Linked DNA regions of Homo sapiens: regions 2 and 3 are each linked to region 1. Evidence: promoter capture Hi-C in 16 types of primary human blood cells and fetal thymus (Javierre and others, 2016). All regions are on one chromosome and are shown on one strand. Each heading gives the region's core, a stretch centred on a gene start or on the middle of the fragment in contact. The rest is flanking DNA. Distances are from core to core; before and after follow the strand shown. Region 1 holds the start of DHRS13 (dehydrogenase/reductase 13). Region 2 holds the start of ALDOC (aldolase, fructose-bisphosphate C). Region 3 holds the start of SPAG5 (sperm associated antigen 5).

Region 1 (3,222 bases), core at 332-2,831:
TTGTGGATGAGGATGTCCAACCGTGGCTCAGAGCTCAGAAAGGCAGTGGCAAAGGCCCGCACCGAGGCCAGACTGGCCAAGTCCAAGGCCATGAAGATGACCTCATTGTTCCCACTCTCCTGTGGAGAGGCAAGGGCTGGGCTTGTCACCAGGCATCTCTCTCCTCTTCCCTCTCCCCAGGCACCAAATTCTGAGAGTCCATCTCCTACTGTTTACTAAAATCTGCCCCTGTGTCTTAGAGTGTACTAGATAAGTGTGTGGATTCAAATCCTGACTTTGCCTTTTACTAAAGTGTGACCTTGGGCAAGATACTTAATCTCTCTGGGTCTCAGTTCTCTCACTGCGTAAAGGGAATAATAATAACAACAGTCCCAATCTCACTGAGCTTTTGTGAGGATGAAAGGAGTTAACGTGTAAAATACACTCTAGCAGCACTGGGTAGGTACTTGCTATTATTATTATCACCTCCTTTCCCCATTACCATTTACCCTAAAATCTGTAACTTCTCACTGGTCTCCTCTCTCCCGCTCTTGCCCCCCCACTCCAGGCACCACGCAGCCACAAAGGAGTTCCTTCCAAAGGCTATTCTGACAGTCCGGAGCCTACTGAGGGCTGTTCATGGTCTCCACTGGTCTCTGCTGCCCAATCTATAAAATCCAAGCTTCTCAATAGGCTCTAGAATGTTCTCCAGCCCCCTCATTTGCCCATCTTCCTCATACTTTGTGCTCCAGCCTCATTAAATCTTTTTCTCAGTTTTTCAGATCAGTCCAGCTCTCTTTGCCTCAGAGCCTTTGCTTATGCTGTGCCCTCTGCTGTTCCCTTTCCTACTGATCATTAACCCAACTTCTACTGATGCTTAAACGTCTCAGAACTGCAATTACGGCCTTCAGGAAGCCCCTCCCCCACTCGGCTCTGGTGCGCCTTCCTCGGGTGACCCCAGCGCTCCGTGCACTCCCTCTTCGCGCTCAGCCGCCCGCGCCGCGCTCTCCTCCCTGGACCCGGATCCTCCGCAGCCCCTTTGCTGGCTTCTCTGTGTCCCGGCGGGTTCTCGGCTCACCGTCCCACGCGCCCCCGCTGCCTCTCACCTGGCGGAGGTCGAAGGCAGCCGCCTCCCCGCGCTCCTGGCTGCGGCAGGCCAGCACCACGCGCGCTCCCCGGCGCGCCAGCTCCAGCGCCGTCATCTTTCCGATGCCGCTGTTGGCGCCTGCGGACCGCGGGCGGGAGCCGAGCTGAGCTGAGCCCGGCGGGCCGCTGCTACCGCCGGCCCGGCCTCCTCTCCGCGCGCCCCGCCAGCTCGCACTCACCCGCCTCCGCACTCACCCGTGACCACGGCCGTGCGGCCCCGCAGGTTGCCCATGCCGCCGCACGGCGGGGCCTTCACCAGGTTGTAGTAGACAAGCACGTAAGCGCCCAGCAGCAACCCCGCGCCCAGCAGCAGCGCCTCCATGCCGGCCGCGCCTCCCGGCTCCCGCCCAGGCCCCGCACCGCCCTGGATCGCCGCCAGGCGGCTGCCGATCCGCCCTGCACAGGCCTGGAACGGCGCCCGGGCGCGTCAGCCTCCGAAGGCGGAGGCGGGCAGGAGGCTGGGCAGGGGCGTGTGCGCGTGCGGGTGCGCGCCGGCCCTGCGAGCGCCCCCTAGGCGTGCGTCGGCGTCCTGGGGGCGTGTGCCTCTGTGGACACCTTTGAGGTGAGTGTGTGCGCTTGGGCCCTGGGAGCGCCCCCTAGGTGTGTGCCTGTGTGAACTCCTGGGTGTGTGTGTCCACGTACACCCTGTGAGTGCACGCTAGGTATGTGCATGCATCTGCAACGCTTGTATGTGAATGATCTCTAGGTGTGTATGTGCCCATGTCCCTGAGGATCACCCTTTGGGTTGTGTGCGTGCCTCTGGATCCTGTGTGTGAGCTCCTGTAAGCACCTTGTAGGTGTTTGTGTGCATTCTGGCAGAGTCCCTCCAGGTATGTGCCTGCATCTGTAGTCTCTGCCAGTGCATGTGCTTGCATATCTCCATATGTTTACTCGAGGTGTATGTAGCACAGTCCCTCCCTTCTGAAGTTAGGTGTGTACATGAATACACGTGTGTCTTTGAGTCTAGTCCTAGATGCTTTTCCCTCTAAGAACAAATCCTTCTCCTTCCTTCCCTTCTGCACAAATCCTTCTCCTTTCCTTCCTTTCCTTTCCTTCCTTCCTTCCTTCCTTCCTTCCTTCCCTTCCTTCCTTCCTCCCTTCCTTCCTTCCTTCCTTCCCTCCCTCCCTTCCTTCCTTCTTTCCTTTCTTTCTTTCTTTTGAGACGGAGTTTCACTCTCGTTGCCCAGGCTGGAGTGCAGTGGCGTGATCCCGGCTCACTGCAACCTCCGCTTCCCGGGTTCAAGCAATTCTCCTGCCTCAGAATCCAGAGTAGCTGGGATCACAGGTGTGTGACACCACACCCGGCTAATTTTTGTATTTTAGTAGAGAAGGGTTTTCACTATGTTGGCCAGGTTGGTCTCAAACTTCTGACCTTAAGTGACCCACCTGCCTCAGCCTCTCAAAGTGCTGGGATTACAGGTGTGAGCCTCTGCACTGGGCCAAATCCTTCGTTTTCTTATCTTCACATCCAGCCCCCAGCTTCTAGGATTCTTCCGTGTTCTCCCCACACAGGCTAGAGAGGACACTGTTAAAGGTGGCACAGGCAGTTAAGGGGTGTCAGAATTCACTCCTTCATTCCCCCTCTGTATCTCCCTACCTCAACCCCACTAGTGCCTTCCATGGCTGAAGGGAAGCAGGAAGAGATAGAGAGTAAAATCTGTTATTGCCTTTCAGGAGGAAATTTGCCTTTGGAATGGTTCTCATAGGTGATAAGAGACAGGCAGAGAAGCTCCATCACTCAATTACAAGTGACCATGATGGCAGGAAGGGTGGGGCTGGCTAGGAACAAATGGGTAAGACCATTCCAGGGCAGAAGGCCGTTGCCTGATACATTCAGTACAATTTAGAACCTGGTATTTGGCACTTATGGTGTGCCCAGCAGTGTAGTTAGACTTGGAAATTCCGAGTGGAAGATATACAAGTTTCTGTCCTTAGGGAGTTCAAAAAGCCCATTAGGGCACCGGGAGCAGAGTGATGACGCCTGCATGGGCAGATGAAAGTCAGGGACAGACCTCAGATTCCAGGGCCAGTTTCCTATTTAGCTGCACTGCGGATTCGGGTTTCCATTGTAGATGCTGTGGGATGAGGCTGGGGGTA
Region 2 (3,222 bases), core at 214-2,713, 330 kb before region 1:
TCCGCAGCCAGAATGCCTTTGCCCGGGGCTACAATCCGCAGGGCAATGTCAGACAACTCCTTCTTCTGCTCAGCAGAAAGGGCTGGGTACGAGTGAGGCATGGTGACAGCTCCCTGGAGTGGAGACAAGATAAAAAAGCCAGACCTCACCCTCTGCTGCCTCTCCTGGCCAGATGGGCCAAATGGCCTCCCCATCAAGCAAGGGGCTGGGAACAGGGCAGCAGTCCTTGGCATGAGTCCTGGGCATCAAGTGGCACCAGTCCTTCTGACAGCTAGCAAGCTTAGGGCTCCAGTTCCCACATCTCCTTTTGTCCCTGGTAGGCATCCTTCCCAGCCCTGGGGAAAGATGCAGGGTGGGGGTGGGGAGGTGAGCAGCCCTGAAGCCACAGCTCTTCTGATAAATCTGCTGCCCAATCAAGGATGCCAACCCTTCTTTCACTGAACTTGGTCCCTTGTTGAGGTAGGCAAAAGTCCTGGCCTTTCCAGCTTCCCTTTTCTCATCCTCCACAGGACCCCTAGGGAAAGTGTACTTACTTCCAAGGCTTCAGAATGAGGCAAAAGTACTTATTGCCACCCTCTTCTCTCAGCTTCTAGAGGAAAAGGTTGGAAGAACAGGTAGGGAGTAGGAGTGGCACAAATACCAGTCACAGGCTCCTGCAGCTTCTCCTTTTCTGTACTCCAAACCTGCCTGCCTATGCCTATTGCCTATTCCCACCCAGTACCAGAGGTTGGCCCCAGTGGGGCTGCAGTGATGTAGGAAAGAGGGCCCAGCGGGTCAGCTGTGTTAGTGTGTGGAGACTAGGGCTAGTGACACCTCCGGGTCATCTCTGTGCCCAGGAAGCACTTCACCTGTTTGGCAGGAGGATAGCAATAGGAAGCACTTCAATTCCCCACAACTCAGACACCCAGACGGGAGGGCAGAGGACCAAGGCTGAAAGGAGTAGAGAGCCTGAGAGAGAGATGAGACTGAGGGGAGCTAGTGGTGATGCAGGCTAACCAGTCAGCGGGAGAGACCTAGACCGGGGGGCAGAGAAGGCGGGAGAACTGGAGAGAGGACCTAGCCTAGGAGGAGAGGGAGCAGGCTGAGAAGGAAATGCTCTGGGTAGGAGAGACAGACTCCAAGGAAAAATCCAACAAGTAGAGGAGGATTTGGGATTGGAAAAGCTGAGGTCCAGCTGGGAGAGCTGAAGAGGGATAGAACAGAAGAGGTTGAGCCATGGGGTTTCAAGTACGCGGAAAGGAGCAAAGATGTTAGGAAAGGGTCGAAAGGGCACATCCCGGAGTCCCAGGTAGCAGGACGAGGATGGCAGGGGAAGAGCCAAGGAAATGAAGCGGAGATGTTGAGTGGCTCCCGCCTTGCCTGGCCTTACCTGTGCGCAGCCAGTTAGCAGCCGCAGCCACAAGCACAGCTCGGGTTCTGATCCGCAAACAGATGAGGCTGCAGCCCTGGCTCCCTCTGGTAAATGAGGCTGCGGATGTCGCAGAGCTACGTGACTCCTCCGGGGGCGTGGCCTGCATGCCCCGCCCTGACCACACCCCCTCCCCAGGACTGGTGTCCGGGGCAAGACCACGCCCTCAGAGGCGGGGCGGCGAGGTGGAGTGAGCGCCCCGCCAGGCATCCGTGGCTGTTAGGGACTGCCCTCCCACCTCGGGGAGCCTGGCCATGACCTTGCGTTCATTTCTGCCACAATCCCTTTACCACGTGCCGGGCACTTGCTGGATGCTGGGGATTAAGCTTAGTCTGGTGAAGAGGAGGCACCAGAACAGTAACAACAGGTTGAGTAGGTGGGGCAGAAGCATCTTCAAGGTGCCCAAGTTCAGGGCAGGAAGTAATGAACTGAGCTTCTCTGTCCTCACCCCCATATTTGCCAGGGTATACCCCCGAGGGGGCTGGGGAAAGTAAGAGAATGAAGCCTTTCTGTTTCCTCCAGGCGGTGAGCCAGGGAACAAGCAGTCCAGTGCCCAGAGTTTTGGTGAAAGCAGAGGAAGGGAGGAAGGGCAGGCAGCCTTGGCTTTGGATGCAGCAGGAGGTGGAGAGGGATCTATGGAGGGTGCCCAGGCAGGAGGCCCAAGCTGCTTCTTCCCTGACTTCATCATCCGCCCCCTCTCACCCAAAAAGTAAGATTCCGTAAGCTTGGAGAAATTCATTAAATACACTTTATTTAAATAGCATTTATCTCAGTTGGCTCTATGCCAGTTGGTCTTGGTATTGGGGTAAGGGGGTATTGCAGGTAAAAAGAGGTGAAGCAGATTCTGGCTTTCAGTTTCTTAGCTCAGAAATTCCAGCAATCCCTGTAGTTCTTTGCATCCCCTCACCACCTCTGGAATAGAGAGCAGGGTCTGGGAAGAGAGGCAGAAAACGCAGCTCAGGACCACAGACTTAAGGCCCAGGGCTCCCAGCCCCAGGAGGCAGCCGCTGAATTAGAGGGGAGAAAACAGACACCACAGAGAAGCCTGCAATAGTGATTCAGGCCCAGCTCTCAGCACAGGCTGGGAACCAGATCTGTGCTCATTAGTACCTCCTGGGGCCAGGCCTTGTACCAGGTTCATTAGTGATATCACCTCCCTCCTGCCTATACCTTATAAATATGCTGAACAATGTCATCTAGTTTTTCTAACTCCTTGTCAGAGCGCCGAAGGTTCTCCTCTAGGATATTTCTCTAGAAAGCAAACAGATTTTATAAGTCCTATGCATAAAAGAGCAAACTTGGTAGGACAGGGGAAACATGGCGGGGCATTTGTTAACGATGGTAGGAAATGGCCCTGGAATGGCATGGACATTCTTACATGGCTCTGGAACTTGATCATGAGTTTTTCCTTCTCATTTTTCATCTCCAGGAACATCACTCTCAGTTTGTCCACCTAGAAATATGTCCAGATCAACAGGGGTACAGCCTGGGGTCCCCACCTGCTGTCCAGCTCCTCTGTTAACTCTGAGTCACCTCCTGAGAGAGCCACACTTTCTCCTGGATCCAATTGGTGGCCATAGGCTGGCAGTTGGAGTCCAGCTGGCCTGCCAGGGCCTCCTGGAGCACTTTGGTCTCTGTCTCCGCACGCCGAAGTGAGCGGGTAAGGTGGGTCACCTCCTCTCTAAGGCTCTGGGAATGAGAATGGAGAGGTGTCCAATAGGACATAAGGATAGACAACATGTGGTGAACAAAAGCAAACCATTTCTCATACTTGGGATCCTGGCTGACCAGTAACACAGAAGGCAAAGGCCTGG
Region 3 (3,222 bases), core at 425-2,924, 300 kb before region 1:
GAGATTGCAGTGAGCCAAGATCACGCCACTGCACTCCAGCCTGGGTGACAGAGCAAGACTCCGTCTCAAAAACAAAAAAATTCAATTCTTCAGTCACCTCAGCCACGTTTTAAGTGCTCAATAACCATGTGACTAGTAGTTACCATGCTGGACAGCACAGATTATCAAATATTTCCCTCATCCCAGAAAGTTCTATTGGACAGTAGGTATTTTGCAACTCTTTCAAGAAAGACTGCTATGCTATCATCATACTTCTGTTACTCAGGATGTCATCTGTCTATACACTCTTCTTTCCTCCTCATACCTATTTTATTGATATCCCATCTCCTTCCAAAAATAATTCATATGCATGAAAATGAATAGATACGATTAATGAAATAACAAAGTCATGGTCAAAAAAGAGGAAGCAAAACTTCCTATACAGCTATAACAGTAGCTGTATGTGATGATCCAGTTTGGCCTTGAGCTTTCTAGAAGGCAGAGCAAGAGGGAAAATATGGTAAACTACATAGTTCTCATTATCAGAAAGAAAAGGATAGCAATTTCTTCAGGAAGACAATTTTTCCAGGCAGTTAGTCCTAAAGCCTTTCTTGGAGGAATCTTATACAGGAGTCAAGCTGCTTCCTTGACAAGTTTTGACAGCAACTGAAATGCAGTTTCTACATGGCTACGTCTCTCAAAACGTTTAACAAAAGTACAAATCAGTGAGGGCAATTCTGCAAGGAGCTAGTTTAAACTAAGGTGATTCAAGTACCCTACCTTCCAGTGGTGTAACTTGATCCCAGGAGAGTTCTAACTACCTCCTAGAGTAAATGGATATTGCCTCAATCTTGCAGGTGACTGACCTTTCCGTAAGTGACCCCATGTTGGAGGAAGAGCACTAATCAGGGTGGTAGGATTTCTCAATAGTTTGATAAAGGTCGAAGGGAGGAGGAGGAGGTAATAAAAACTAACAGCTAAACAGAGATTCAAGTTCTCACTGGATTTCCTTTAACCACCCTAGGGCACCTCTCTGTTGGCCTGAATAGCTGTAAATGGATGTCACCGACGTAGAAGACTTCATTATCGTTATTAATTATTGTAGCCCTGGCCCTCTGTTCCCCTGAGCTCTCACCCTGGGCAAACAGCCCAGTCGAGAAGCTGTCCAGGCGAATCTCACCTGCAGCCCCAGCTTGCACAGTGATGGGGTCAGCGAGGAGCAAGCGGGGGATCTTTTTCCAGAGTTGGTGAGGGCACCGGGCTGCAGGGTAAGTTCACGGAGAGGAGTTCTCATAGATGGTTTTCCCTGAGAAAGAAACCAAGAAAGAGGGCGAGTGTGAGGAAGCCTGGGTTCTGCCAGCCCGCCCCTCCTCCCTCCCTAAGAAGCCCAAAATGCGATTAGAAGAGTACGCTCGCACCCTAGTCGCGCAGGAGCAGCAAGGCGAACAAAGACTCCACAAGCCCCCAACCCCGGGCTCGACCCAACTTTCCAGGACAGTAGACACGGCCGGTGCCCCCGCGACAGCAGCCCGGCCCAGTTCTCTCCGCCAGAGATCTCCCGCTTACCGTCTGGGGCGAAGGCGACAGGCTGAGGCTCAGTTTTTTCACTCGCCACATCTTCAACCAGAAGGCAGGCCTATCACGTCTCAGACCAAGTCGAGGACGCCATGTTCACCCGCCGTCTGTGTTTGAACCTGCTCTGCGCTTCCTGGTTGGCTGCTTCAGGCGCGCGCGTACGCTCGGGGGTAGAGCCCGGGGGGCGGGGCCCGCGTTGACCACGCCCCCGGCCCTGCCTGCCCCTCCGTTGTCGAGCGTTTTCCGCTGACGGAGCCCTCACCTCAGACACCGGCGGTAGGGCTGGATGCGGGCCCGGCCCAGGACCGGTCTTCTGTCCTCACACCGGGGAGGACCACGCAGGTAGCTGGAGAGTCCAGGAGTCCATCCCTCCTGCTTCCAGCGGACCTCCTCACATCCATGGTGTTCATATCCAAGTTGTCTCCGTGGATGGAGAAGAGGAATCCTCTCCCTAGGTCTCCCTCAGTCCTCTCCAGCCGCAGCCTTGACGGGAAAGAGCCGGCCAGGGAGTCTAGAAGCCGAAGCGGTGCCGAGCGGCTTCCCTAGGCTTGGTGGGCCCGCGTCCGGGACGGCCCGGGCCGTGGTTCTCGACCTGGGCTGTAATGTCTCCAGAGTTTCTGGGCTTTTCCTGGGACTTACTCAGGCCGGCTACCAGTTTACTGGGCTAACCGCCTACATGTATTGAACATTGAGTGTGTGCCTGGCGCTATGCCGAATGCCGTGTAGTAGCTCATTTAATGCGCATAAGGACCTACGTAGTGAGAAATACTATAAATATCCCCATTTGTGACAGGAAGGAGCTGAGTCAGAGAGACCGTGTGTAATTTGCTCAGCGTCACACAGATAGTAAACGGCAGAGCCGCTCTTCCTCCCTGTCCCGCCAGCTCCTGCCTTCTGCTGTCTTGGATCTCCTATGCACGGGAAACCTGTTGAAGGTAGGACAGCCGAAAGGTCAGTATTCAGAGTGAGCCGTTTGCGAAGGTGTGTGTGCTTTGCACACTCACGGCGCCCTGTTTACACTCTGCAAGTCTTAATACATAGGGGGAAAGCAGCAGTCCAAAGAGGAGGAACTATGATGTTATAAACTGCAGCGTCCTCAGGGACGGGCTCCTCTAGCATTGTGTTGTCCAGTACGTTAGCCCTAGCCATAGTGGCTTTTGAGCACTTCAGATGTGACTAGTCCCAGTGGGAATGTGCTATAAATGTAAAACACTGTACAAACTGGATTTCAAACACGTCGTATGAAAAAAAGAATGCAAAATATCGCCAGGTGCGGTGGCTCATGCCTGTAATCCCAGCACGGAGGAGACAGAGGCAGGAGGATCCTTTAAGCCCAGGAGTTCGAGACCTGCCTCGGCAATATAGTGAGACCTATGTCTACAAAAAAAAAATTTGGGCCGGGCACGGTGGCTCACGCCTATAATCCCGCACTTCGGGAGGCCGAGGCAGGCGGATCACCTGAGGTCAGGAGTTCGAGACCAGCCTGCCCAACACGGCGAAACCCCGTTTCTACTAAAAATACAAAAATTAGCCAGGTGTGGTGGCACACGCCTGTAATCCCAGCTACTTGGGAGGCTGAGGCAGGAAGAATCTCTTGAACCTGGGAGGCGGAGGTTGCAGTGAGCTGAGATGGCACCACTACACTCCAGCCTGGGTGACAGAGCTAGA

The links. The method cuts DNA at HindIII sites, captures the fragments that hold promoters and counts their contacts. A CHiCAGO score of 5 or more calls a contact.
Region 2: a contact is called between the fragment with the promoter of ALDOC here and the fragment with the promoter of DHRS13 in region 1, in 2 of 17 cell types (non-activated CD4 T cells and fetal thymus). The highest score is 6.6, in non-activated CD4 T cells.
Region 3: a contact is called between the fragment with the promoter of SPAG5 here and the fragment with the promoter of DHRS13 in region 1, in 6 of 17 cell types (fetal thymus, erythroblasts, activated CD4 T cells and 3 more). The highest score is 11.7, in fetal thymus.

Annotation. Positions count from the first base shown.
Region 1 is chr17:28,901,498-28,904,719 of GRCh38, forward strand. It overlaps DHRS13 (dehydrogenase/reductase 13), which reads right to left and starts at 1,582. Exons shown (of 5, transcript NM_144683.4): 1 at 1,321-1,582; 2 at 1,086-1,204; 3 at 1-119. The coding sequence starts at 1,447. RefSeq lists silencers at 481-673, 1,175-1,804. The HindIII fragment of the contact is 5,010 bases long and covers 660-3,222 here.
Region 2 is chr17:28,575,432-28,578,653 of GRCh38, forward strand. ALDOC (aldolase, fructose-bisphosphate C) reads right to left here and starts at 1,464. Exons shown (of 9, transcript NM_005165.3): 1 at 1,370-1,464; 2 at 1-113. The coding sequence starts at 101. It overlaps SPAG5 (sperm associated antigen 5), which reads right to left. Exons shown (of 24, transcript NM_006461.4): 21 at 2,942-3,097; 22 at 2,787-2,861; 23 at 2,579-2,659; 24 at 2,143-2,339. The coding sequence ends at 2,268. RefSeq lists a silencer at 1,397-1,636 and an enhancer at 1,687-1,866. The HindIII fragment of the contact is 1,455 bases long and covers 278-1,732 here.
Region 3 is chr17:28,597,351-28,600,572 of GRCh38, forward strand. SPAG5 (sperm associated antigen 5) reads right to left here and starts at 1,675. Exons shown (of 24, transcript NM_006461.4): 1 at 1,546-1,675; 2 at 1,160-1,285. The coding sequence starts at 1,596. SPAG5-AS1 (SPAG5 antisense RNA 1) reads left to right here and starts at 1,783. Exons shown (of 3, transcript NR_040012.1): 1 at 1,783-1,896; 2 at 2,348-2,505. RefSeq lists enhancers at 1,337-1,881, 2,106-2,185 and a silencer at 1,586-1,895. The HindIII fragment of the contact is 7,511 bases long and covers 1-3,222 here.